Regions from separate parts of the Homo sapiens genome. Here region 2 is linked to region 1. Evidence: promoter capture Hi-C in 16 types of primary human blood cells and fetal thymus (Javierre and others, 2016). All regions are on one chromosome and are shown on one strand. Each heading gives the region's core, a stretch centred on a gene start or on the middle of the fragment in contact. The rest is flanking DNA. Distances are from core to core; before and after follow the strand shown.

Region 1 (4,466 bases), core at 310-2,809:
GCCAGCAACAATGCCATACTGAAGGTACTCAGTACATATTTGAGGAAGGAGTTAGCCAGGACCTTGCCAGCTTCCTCTGCACTTCAGCTAAAGCCAACCAAATTCTTGGGTAATTCATTCCAGCCCAGAGCCAGGTGTTTTGACGTCAGCTGAAGCTCTCATAACTCTGCCAAAGAAGAGTTCTTGCCACTGGTTAGGCGCCCTCTAGTTGTGTGACTCTCTCCATATCTGTCTCCTTATCTTTAGTGATTTTGTTTGTTCGTTTGTTTGTTTGTTTTTGAGATGGAGTCTCACTGTCGCTCAGGCTGGAGTGCAGCGGCGCGATCTTGGCTCACTGCAACCTCCGCCTTCCGGGTTCCAGCGATTCTGAGTAGCTGGGATTACAGGCCCGCGCCACCACACCTGGCTTTTGTTGTTGTTGTTGTTTGTTTTGAGACGGAATTTCGCTCTTGTTGCCCAGGCTGGAGTGCAATGGCACGATCTCTGCTCACCGCAACCTCCGCCTCCTGGGTTCAAGCGATTCTCCTGCCTCAGCCTCCCACGTAGCTGGGATTACAGGCATGTCCCACCACGCCCGGCTAATTTTGTATTTTTAGTAGAGACGGGGGTTCTCCATTTTGGTCAGGCTAGTCTCGAACTCCAGACCTCAGGTGAGCTGCCCACTTTGGCCTTCCAAAGTGCTGGGATTACGGGAGTGAGCCACCGTGCCCGGCCTTATTTTTGTATTTTTACTAGAGACGGGGTTTCACCATGTCGGCCAGGCTGGTCTCGAACTCCTGACCTCAGGTGATCCACCCGCCTCGGCTTCCCAAACTGTTGGGATTACAGGCGTGAGACATGGCGCCCGGCCTGTCTCCTTATCTTTAAAATGTGGACAATAAAAGCATCTCCCCACAGGGCTGTAGGGAGGATTACAAGAGATAATGCATGAAAAGCTTTTGGCACAGTGCCTAGCAGAGGGTGGGGTACGCTTCTCAAAGAATAGTCCCGTGCACGCGTTGAATCAATGAGTGGAAGAAATAACTTGAGGTTGCCTGTTTATTTACTGAGTGCCTACCATGGAATCAGGGAAGGTTTTCTGCAACCTTTACTTTGACAGGGAAGGGCTTGTACAGGTGAAGGTGGTAGCCGTCGGTAGCGACGACGAGGGTATTCCAGGCTGTCAGGAGGTTCTTGCCAGACAGCTGTGTGGGAGTGGGCGGCCAGCATCCCCCGAAAGCGCGGGGAAGGCAGCTCGGTCGGGTGGAGGAAGCGATGGCATCCACGCTGAGCTCCAGTCCTGGGTAGTTATTAGCCGCGTGACTTTGGCCAAATTACTGCACCTCTCTCAACTTCCCGAACTGTAGAATGAGTCTGTTAAGAATACTCACATGCCAAGCATCTTGTGAGATCACGCGACCGCACGTATGCGAAGACGCGCTTCATCTAGAAAGCACAAAACTCTCAAGCCGGCCGACACGGCTGCGCTCTTTGCACTTACGGGCCTGGGCTTCCTCTTCAGGCATGCGCGGTGGACCTGCGGCGCGGCCCGTCAGGCACTGCGGTAGGCGCCCTAGGGGCTTGCAGGACCCTGACCCCAAGATGGCGGCGCCCAGCGAAGTGGCCGCGATAGCCCCTGGCGAAGGCGATGGCGGAGGCGGCGGCTTTGGCTCCTGGCTGGACGGACGGTTGGAGGCACTGGGAGTGGACCGAGCCGTTTATGGAGCCTACATCTTGGGTATCCTGCAGGAGGAGGAGGAAGAAGAGAAGCTGGACGCTCTGCAGGGGATCCTCTCTGCTTTCCTGGTGAGTAGCCTGGACACATTCCTTCAGCCTCTGGCCAGCATCTGAGGACCTGTCAGTACTTTGCACCCTCCCTCCCCTACCGGGTATCCCAGAGGCTCAGTGGTCTCACCTGGGAGAGGTATACTCCTCTGATATCTGGGCGGCGGGGGAAGGAGGTTGCTCCCCAACCAGGTGTGGGAAGCCTGAAAGCTGCAGGTACACAGAGAGGAAGGGCTTTCTCGTATTCTTGGGGACAAGGCCCTCTCCGATGCTTGTGAGTGAGCCGAGGAGGGTTCTTCCGAAGGCATTGAAATGTCAGAATGGGAATGTTATCATAAATATCTGACGACCAATTCCATTTCCATCCGTTTACAGTGTTCACTGGGGGTATTAAAATGCTCTTGGGAGGTCTGTGCCTATTACAAGGCAGTTCCCAGGGCTGTCCCATGACAGAAGCCTGCAGGAAGTGCCCTTTTGATTCTTATATGGATGTAGGAGTCCATAAAAGGTAAGCTGGTGGTAGAAGTCTTTTCATGCCCACGCAGAACTGAAGCAAACGTCGTGCTTGATCCATTACAGTATTTACAGTAATCATTGGTGGTGGGAAGGAGGGTATGAGAGAGATCAGAGCTTTAACGAAGAGAGAGAAACTTAGTCCTTAGCCTGTTAGAAGCAAGGTATTCAGAAATGTGTACTTTAAGCTATGTTTACATAGTAAGTCACCCAGATGTCCACTTTTTCAACCTGATCATTTCTGCTGCCTTCATCTTCACTTCCCACACCTCCAACATACACACTTATTAGACTGGTTATTACAGATTAAATTGGTTGTAGGTGCTACCTGTGGCTGTCTAACAAATTGTTTCCTTTTAAATACAAGCTTAAAAATAAAATTTACTTGAATCATCACTAAATGCTGTAGAAGCTAGAGTTGTCTCTGCATTCATGGATTAGAGGAGATCCTGGATACCTGATTGCTACTGTGAGAGCCACCTGTCTGTCCATCAAAGGCTTTATCCTCTGGCATTTATTACAATGGACAGGTTAGAAAAATGGGTTCTTTGTTATTCTCAAAACCAATTTTGAAAGGCTAGTAATAGAATCAAAATGTACCATGAGGTGGGGCACAGTGGCTCATGTTTGTAATCTCACCACTTTGGGAGGCTGAGGTGGGAGGATTGCTTGAGGCCAAGAGTTCCACACCACACTGGGCAACATAGCAAGACCCTGTCTCTACAAAAAAATTTAAAAAATTAGCCAGGTATGGTGGCGCATACCTGTAGTCCCAGCTACTCAGAAGTCTGAAGTGGGAGGATCACTTGAGCCTAGGAGGCTGTGGCTGCAGTGAGCCGTGATTGTGCCACTGCACTCCAGCTTGGGTGACAGAGTGACCCTGTCTCAAAGAAAAAAAAATTAGTATAAATATATATAGATATAAATGTACATATTCATATCTCATTTTTTTAAAAGGGTAGAAGGCAGAAACATTTTCAAATCCAAAAGTGTTTTGTGAAAGCGGAAACAAGTGCTAGGAAAAAATCACTCACATTTGGTGGAAGCAGTTCATAGATTGGGTACATGGTTGAAATATAACACTAGTGCAGCTGTCCCAGATTCTTCTGGCAGTAACCCATTTGAGTTCCAGAGCCTCTTCTGGCAAGATTGGCTTATAAATGGGAAAACTTTAACACAGCCTGTGAGGAAGCTTGGAAGTTCACTGGAAATACAAGACAGTGGAATCAATTCTTTTTTTGGACCACAACATTACAGATTATAGGGAGAAAGAGTAGGAGGCAAGCAATTTAAGGTAGTTTTTATTTACAGCTGGGAAGTTTCTAAACACTCCATGAAGCTGTTGAAATAACTTTGAGACTTCTTGGTACCAGCTTCTTGATCAGTCCATCATTATTTGGAGCTGTTTCTGTTGATAAAGGTAGACATTAGTTTGCCTTTTTTTTTTTTTAAGAGAGTCTCGCTCTGTTATAGTAATGTGATCATAACTCACTGTAGCCTTGAACGACTGGACTCAAGCAATCCCCTCTCATCAGCCTCCCAAGTAGCTAGGACTACAGGCACCTGCCATCACATATCATGCCTGGCTAACTTTTTTTTTTATGTTTTATGTTTTATTTTTTGAGACAAAGTCTCACTCTGTCACCCAGGCTGGAGTGCAGTAGCAAAATCTCGGCTCACTGTAACCTCTGCCTCCTGGGTTCAGGTGATTCTCAGCCTCCCGAGTAGCTGGGATTACAGGCATATGCCACCATGCCTGGCTAATTTTTATATTTTTAGTAGAGATGGGGTTTCACCATGTTGACCAGGCTGGTCTCAAACTCCTGACCTCAAGTGATCCACCCATCTCAGTCTCTCAAAGTGCTGGGGCTATAGGCGTGAGCCACCACACCCAGCCATGCCTGGCTAATTAAAAAAAAAAAATTTTTTTTTGTAGAGACAGGGTTTTGCCATGTTGCTCAGGGTGGTCTTATGCTCCTGGGCTCAAGACATCCTCCTGCCTTGGCCTCCCAAAGTGCTGAGATTACAGATGTGAGCCTCTGTGCCTGACTTGGGCTAGGATTTAATATGAGGAATTTAGAAGTTTGTTAGCAATAATCTGAGGTAAAATTCAAGAACAGTGGCATATAGTTAGGAGCAAATAACAGTAAACAAAAACTTTTATCATCCTTCTCTTCAATAGTACTTGC
Region 2 (4,496 bases), core at 1,792-4,291, 140 kb after region 1:
GATCAGAAACCAGATGCCAACAAAACTTTCCCCCCCTTTTGCTTTTTAAAGAGACAAGCTATTATTATATTAAGGGCTGTTTGCCCAGCCCGGGATTTCTCCGGAGTTGCCGCGGCGAGATCGGGGGACACTACTCGACCCTGGCTCACTCCTCTTCCCGGGCCGAGGTGCTCTGCCGGGTGGGGACTCTTTAAACCCTTGCCCCCGCCCCCGATCCTCGAACCCCACCTATTCCTAGTCCAATTTTTCAAATCGAGTGAAAAATCTCAAATTTAAAAATTAAAACAGACTTTAAAAAAACTAACAATTTACAAAGACCTTTTCTGTCCGCTCTTTCTGGAGCCCAGGCGAAAGTTTCACTTCACTTTACACGTAGATCCCTCGCCCTCCCCCTCCACACACCCTTAAAAAACCCTCTGAAAAATGGGATCCTGTCTCTTTAAGAGACTCTTAAAGGGACCAGGACTCCGAGGCGTAATTGCCCCGTAGCCAACACAAAGGAGCCCATTATGGTTCTTTGTGTTCGGTGGCACCTCAAAGTGAGAAAACTCAGGAACTCGGAGGCCCGGAGCTGGAGGGTTGGGGCGGGGGGCTTGGAGGGAGCGAGGGAAAGGAGAATGGCCCGGAGCTGCGGCTTCTCCCTCCCGCTTCTTCTGCGGCAAATCTTAATTGTGCAAAGTAAAGTTTAGTTGCCCTAAGGAGGAGGTCTTAATCGAAAGTTAATGGTGGGGGGCGGGGGGTGACGGGCAATTTTGAGTGAAGGGACGACTCTCTTAGGCCTGACGAACGTTTGAGGGAATTTTCCTTCTGCCTCCCCACCTCTACCTCCGCCCCCTAAAAGCTTCCAGATCCCGTCTCCAGGGCGAGAGGGGAGTTTTACCCAAATCTTAAGTGGTTCCACACCAGAGAGGGGTGGCGTGTGTGACGCGGGAGGAAACTGGGGGGTTGTGGTGAATTATCCCCTCCACATCTCTCACCTGGTAAGGGGTGGGGTGTGGCCAGCAGGGTTCCTGCTACTTTTAGAATTTTTCTTTTCCCTTCTAGGATTTTAAATTTGGAAAGGGGTCGAGGAGGAATTTGCATGTAAATCTCCTGGGCCTGATACTGGATGATGGATCAATTATTTTCTGTTGTCTCTCCCGAGGGACAGGGGAAAGGGGGGACTTAAAAAGAAGAAAGAAAATTGAGTTTAGAAAGCCCCTTTGCTTCACAGTATGGGCCAAATCCTCACAGTCTGGTGAAATGTTTCTTGCTCCAATATAGAAAAGAATTGTTTTAAACAACAACAGCAGAAGAAGAAAAATAACAAAAAGAGGAAAGGAGTAGGGAGAAGGAAAAAATATTCTAAGTAGATGGATACAAAGGGATCCAGGTTTGACAGGATTCAAAAAAAAATTTTTTTTTCCTGATCGAATGAATGATATAAAGATGTTCCGGTTTCTTACAACTTGAAAATGTTCCTTATTACATCCTGGGGAATTTGCCTTTTCCCTACACCAGGATGAAAATTTTCCTTCAAAATTGGGGCATGAGTGGGTGTCGAGGGGGATATGCCTTTTTTTGTGCATCCCATTTCCAGCCCACCCATCTCTATTCCACCAGCAAGCCCATTTTCTCTCAGAGCAGTCTAAGGATGGGAATGTTGTGCTCTCTCTGCTCCATTTGAGCCTGAGCTTTTGATCCTCAGATCTCCTGCCTAGTCCATCTCAAAGCATCTTGAGAGCCGGTACCAAACATGGAAGCTGAGCAGTGGAAACAAAAATGAATGACAGGCTCCTATACCCCATTCAGGAAGCTCGCAGTCCGATAGGAAATTGAGAGCAAATCTCCAATGTAAACGCAGCATCTTCAATTTCCTTCCATGACAAACCCGTTTTCCTGGCCTAGGGCCAGGTCTGAATGACAGTTATCCCCTCCCAGCCACCCCAAGGCAGATGGGGAGCTGGGGAGCTGGAAACAGGAAATAGAGGACATTCTTCCATTCACTCAGGCAACCTTTCATTCCTTCAACACACTTTTTTTCTTATTTCAAACCACCATAATAGGGGCTATGGAGAATGTGGAAAAAGATGACAGCATCTGCCCTTCAAAAATTTATAGTAGGCCGGGGGCAGTGGCTCATGCCTATAATCCAGCACTTTTGGAGGCCAAGGCGGGCAATCACCTGAGATCAGGAGTTTGAGACCAGCCTGGCCAACATAGTGAAACCCCGTCTCTACAAAAAATACAAAAATTAGCTGGGCATGGTGGTGCATGCCTGTAGTCCCAGCTACTCAGGAGGCTGAGGCAGGAGCTGAGGCTTGAACCCGGGAGTCGGAGGCTGAAGTGAGCTGAGGTCGCGCCACTGCACTCCAGCCTGGGCAACACAGCGAGACTCTGTCTCAAAAAAAAAAAAAAAAAAGAGTTTATAGTAGCCCAGAAGAAAAGTGATTCCACAAAGATGTTACACTTGTCTAGCATTTGTACATGAAATAAGGAGAAATCACGGTATTTCATGTTTACTCTTGCCTTTCACGTGAGGGACCTGAGTGTGAACAGGACCAGAACCTGCATCTTCAGATTACAGGCCTACCTACAGCACTTCTCATTCTGCCAACCTGCCTCTTGAGTACAGGAGCCCTGTAACTAAAGGATGTAATTTGTTATTTGATAGATACAGCATTTATTTCTGAGTTTTTAAAAATTAGCTTGGGCAGGATGCAATGGCTCATGCCTTTAATCCCAGCACTTTGAGAGGCCAAGGCAGGAGGATTGCTTGAAGCCAGATTTGAGACCAGCTGGGACAAGAAGTGAGACCCCTGTCTCTACAAAAATTTTAAAACATTAGCTGGGCATGGTGGTGCATGCCTGTGGTCCCAGCTACTTGGGAGGCTGAGGTGGGAGAATTGCTTGAGCCCAGGAGGTTGAGGCTACAGTGAGCTGTCATCATGCCACTGTGCTCCAGCCCAGGCAACAGAGTGAGACCTCTAAATAAATAAATAAATTAGCTTGGTCATTGACTTGGACCCATTTGTAACTCTGCCACTAACTATACAGCCTTGGAACAGTCACTTTACTTCTTTGAACCTCAGTTTTCCCATCTGCCAAGTAGGAAACCAACAGATTTTAAAAATGTGAGACTCCACATCCAAAATAATTTCAGAATGACAAAAATACATTTCATAATCATAAAGCGCCTTTTAAAACAAGAAGTTACGTTGAATTAAATATTTATTCAGCAGGCATCCTGGGAGACCTAGGGTAATGGCTACCCTTTTTTTTTTAGACGGAGTCTCGCTCTGTCGCCCAGGCTGGAGTACAGTGGCACAATCTTGGCTCACTGCAACCTTCACCTCCCAGGTTCAAGCAATTCTCCTCTCTCAGCCTCCCAAGTAGCAGGGATTACAGCCGGGCACCACCATGCCTGGCTAATTTTTGTATTATTAGTAGAGACAGGGTTTCACCATGTTGGTCAGGCTGGTCTCGAACTCCTGACCTTGTGATCCACCCACCTCGGCCTCTCAAAGTGCTGGGATTACAGGCGTGAGCCACTGCGCCCGGCCAATTGCTACCATTTTTTGAGCTCCTGCTAAGTTCTGCACATGTATATGCCTACAAAGTGGGTATTGTTTTTTGTTTATAGATGAAGAATCCACCTTAGGTGAGATCTGGCAACTTTCCCAAAGTCACATAGTATGTGGCAGGGGTGAGATTAAAACCCAGGCCTGTTTGGCTCTTAAAGCTGTGTTCTGTCTCCTGCATCACATAGCCCCTAATATCTGTAAGAATTGTGTGCTCTTATTCACTTAACAAATTTATGGCCAGGCACGGTGGCTCATGCTTGTAATTCCACTTTGGGAGGCTGAGGCAGGAGGGTCACTTGAGGTCAGGAGTTTGGAACCAGCCTGGGCAACATAGCCAGAACTCATTTCTTTTTTTTTTTTTTTTTTTTTTTTGAGACAGAGTCTCACTCTGTCGCCAAGTACAGTGGTGCGATCTCAGCTCACTGCAACCTCCACCTCCTGGGTTCAAGCGATTCTCCTACCTCAGCCTCCTGAGTAGCTGGGATTACAGGCGCGCACCACCACACCCAGCTAATTTTTGTATTTTTAGTAGAGACGGAGTTTCACTATATTGGCAAAGCTGGTCTCAAACTCCTGACCTCATGATCTGCCCACCTCGACCTCCCAAAGTGCTGGGATTACAGGTGTGAGCCACCATGCCCGGCCTCATCTCTTAAAAAAAAAAAAAATTACACTGAATACCAGACCCAACCCTTTGTTCCTATGGAGCTCATGTCCTAGTGGGAGACACTCACGTTGACTGCACAGTCACTGACATGGATGTAAAAGTGCCATGGGATTCAGTGCTGTGAAGGGAAGATCCGTAGTTCTTTGAAAGCATAATTGGGGAGGGAATCTGACTGAGTCGGGGAGGGCAAGAGAGGCTGTGTGGTTGGAGTGAGGAGCAAAGTAGGACGAGGTAAAGAGGCCAGCAGGGATCAGAGTTGCAGGGCC

What was found. Contacts are between HindIII fragments. The CHiCAGO score rates a contact against its expected background, and 5 or more counts as called.
Region 2: a fragment that was not itself captured here is called in contact with the fragment with the promoter of CCDC43 in region 1 in 1 of 17 cell types (megakaryocytes); the score reaches 5.2 in megakaryocytes.

What each region holds. Positions count from the first base shown.
Region 1 is chr17:44,686,869-44,691,334 of GRCh38, reverse strand. It overlaps CCDC43 (coiled-coil domain containing 43), which reads left to right and starts at 1,559. Exons shown (of 5, transcript NM_144609.3): 1 at 1,559-1,785. The coding sequence starts at 1,582. LOC105371792 (a long non-coding RNA gene) reads right to left here. Exons shown (of 4, transcript XR_007065769.1): 2 at 3,312-3,481; 3 at 3,042-3,157; 4 at 2,322-2,394. It overlaps LOC124904010 (a long non-coding RNA gene), which reads right to left and starts at 1,554. Exons shown (of 2, transcript XR_007065770.1): 1 at 1,481-1,554; 2 at 1,025-1,340. RefSeq lists enhancers at 1,429-1,568, 1,237-1,826. The HindIII fragment of the contact is 1,709 bases long and covers 938-2,646 here.
Region 2 is chr17:44,552,664-44,557,159 of GRCh38, reverse strand. No RefSeq gene overlaps it. Among named protein-coding and RNA genes, the nearest start is that of FZD2, 2.6 kb to the left of the region's middle. RefSeq lists enhancers at 1-411, 412-1,181. The HindIII fragment of the contact is 4,396 bases long and covers 844-4,496 here.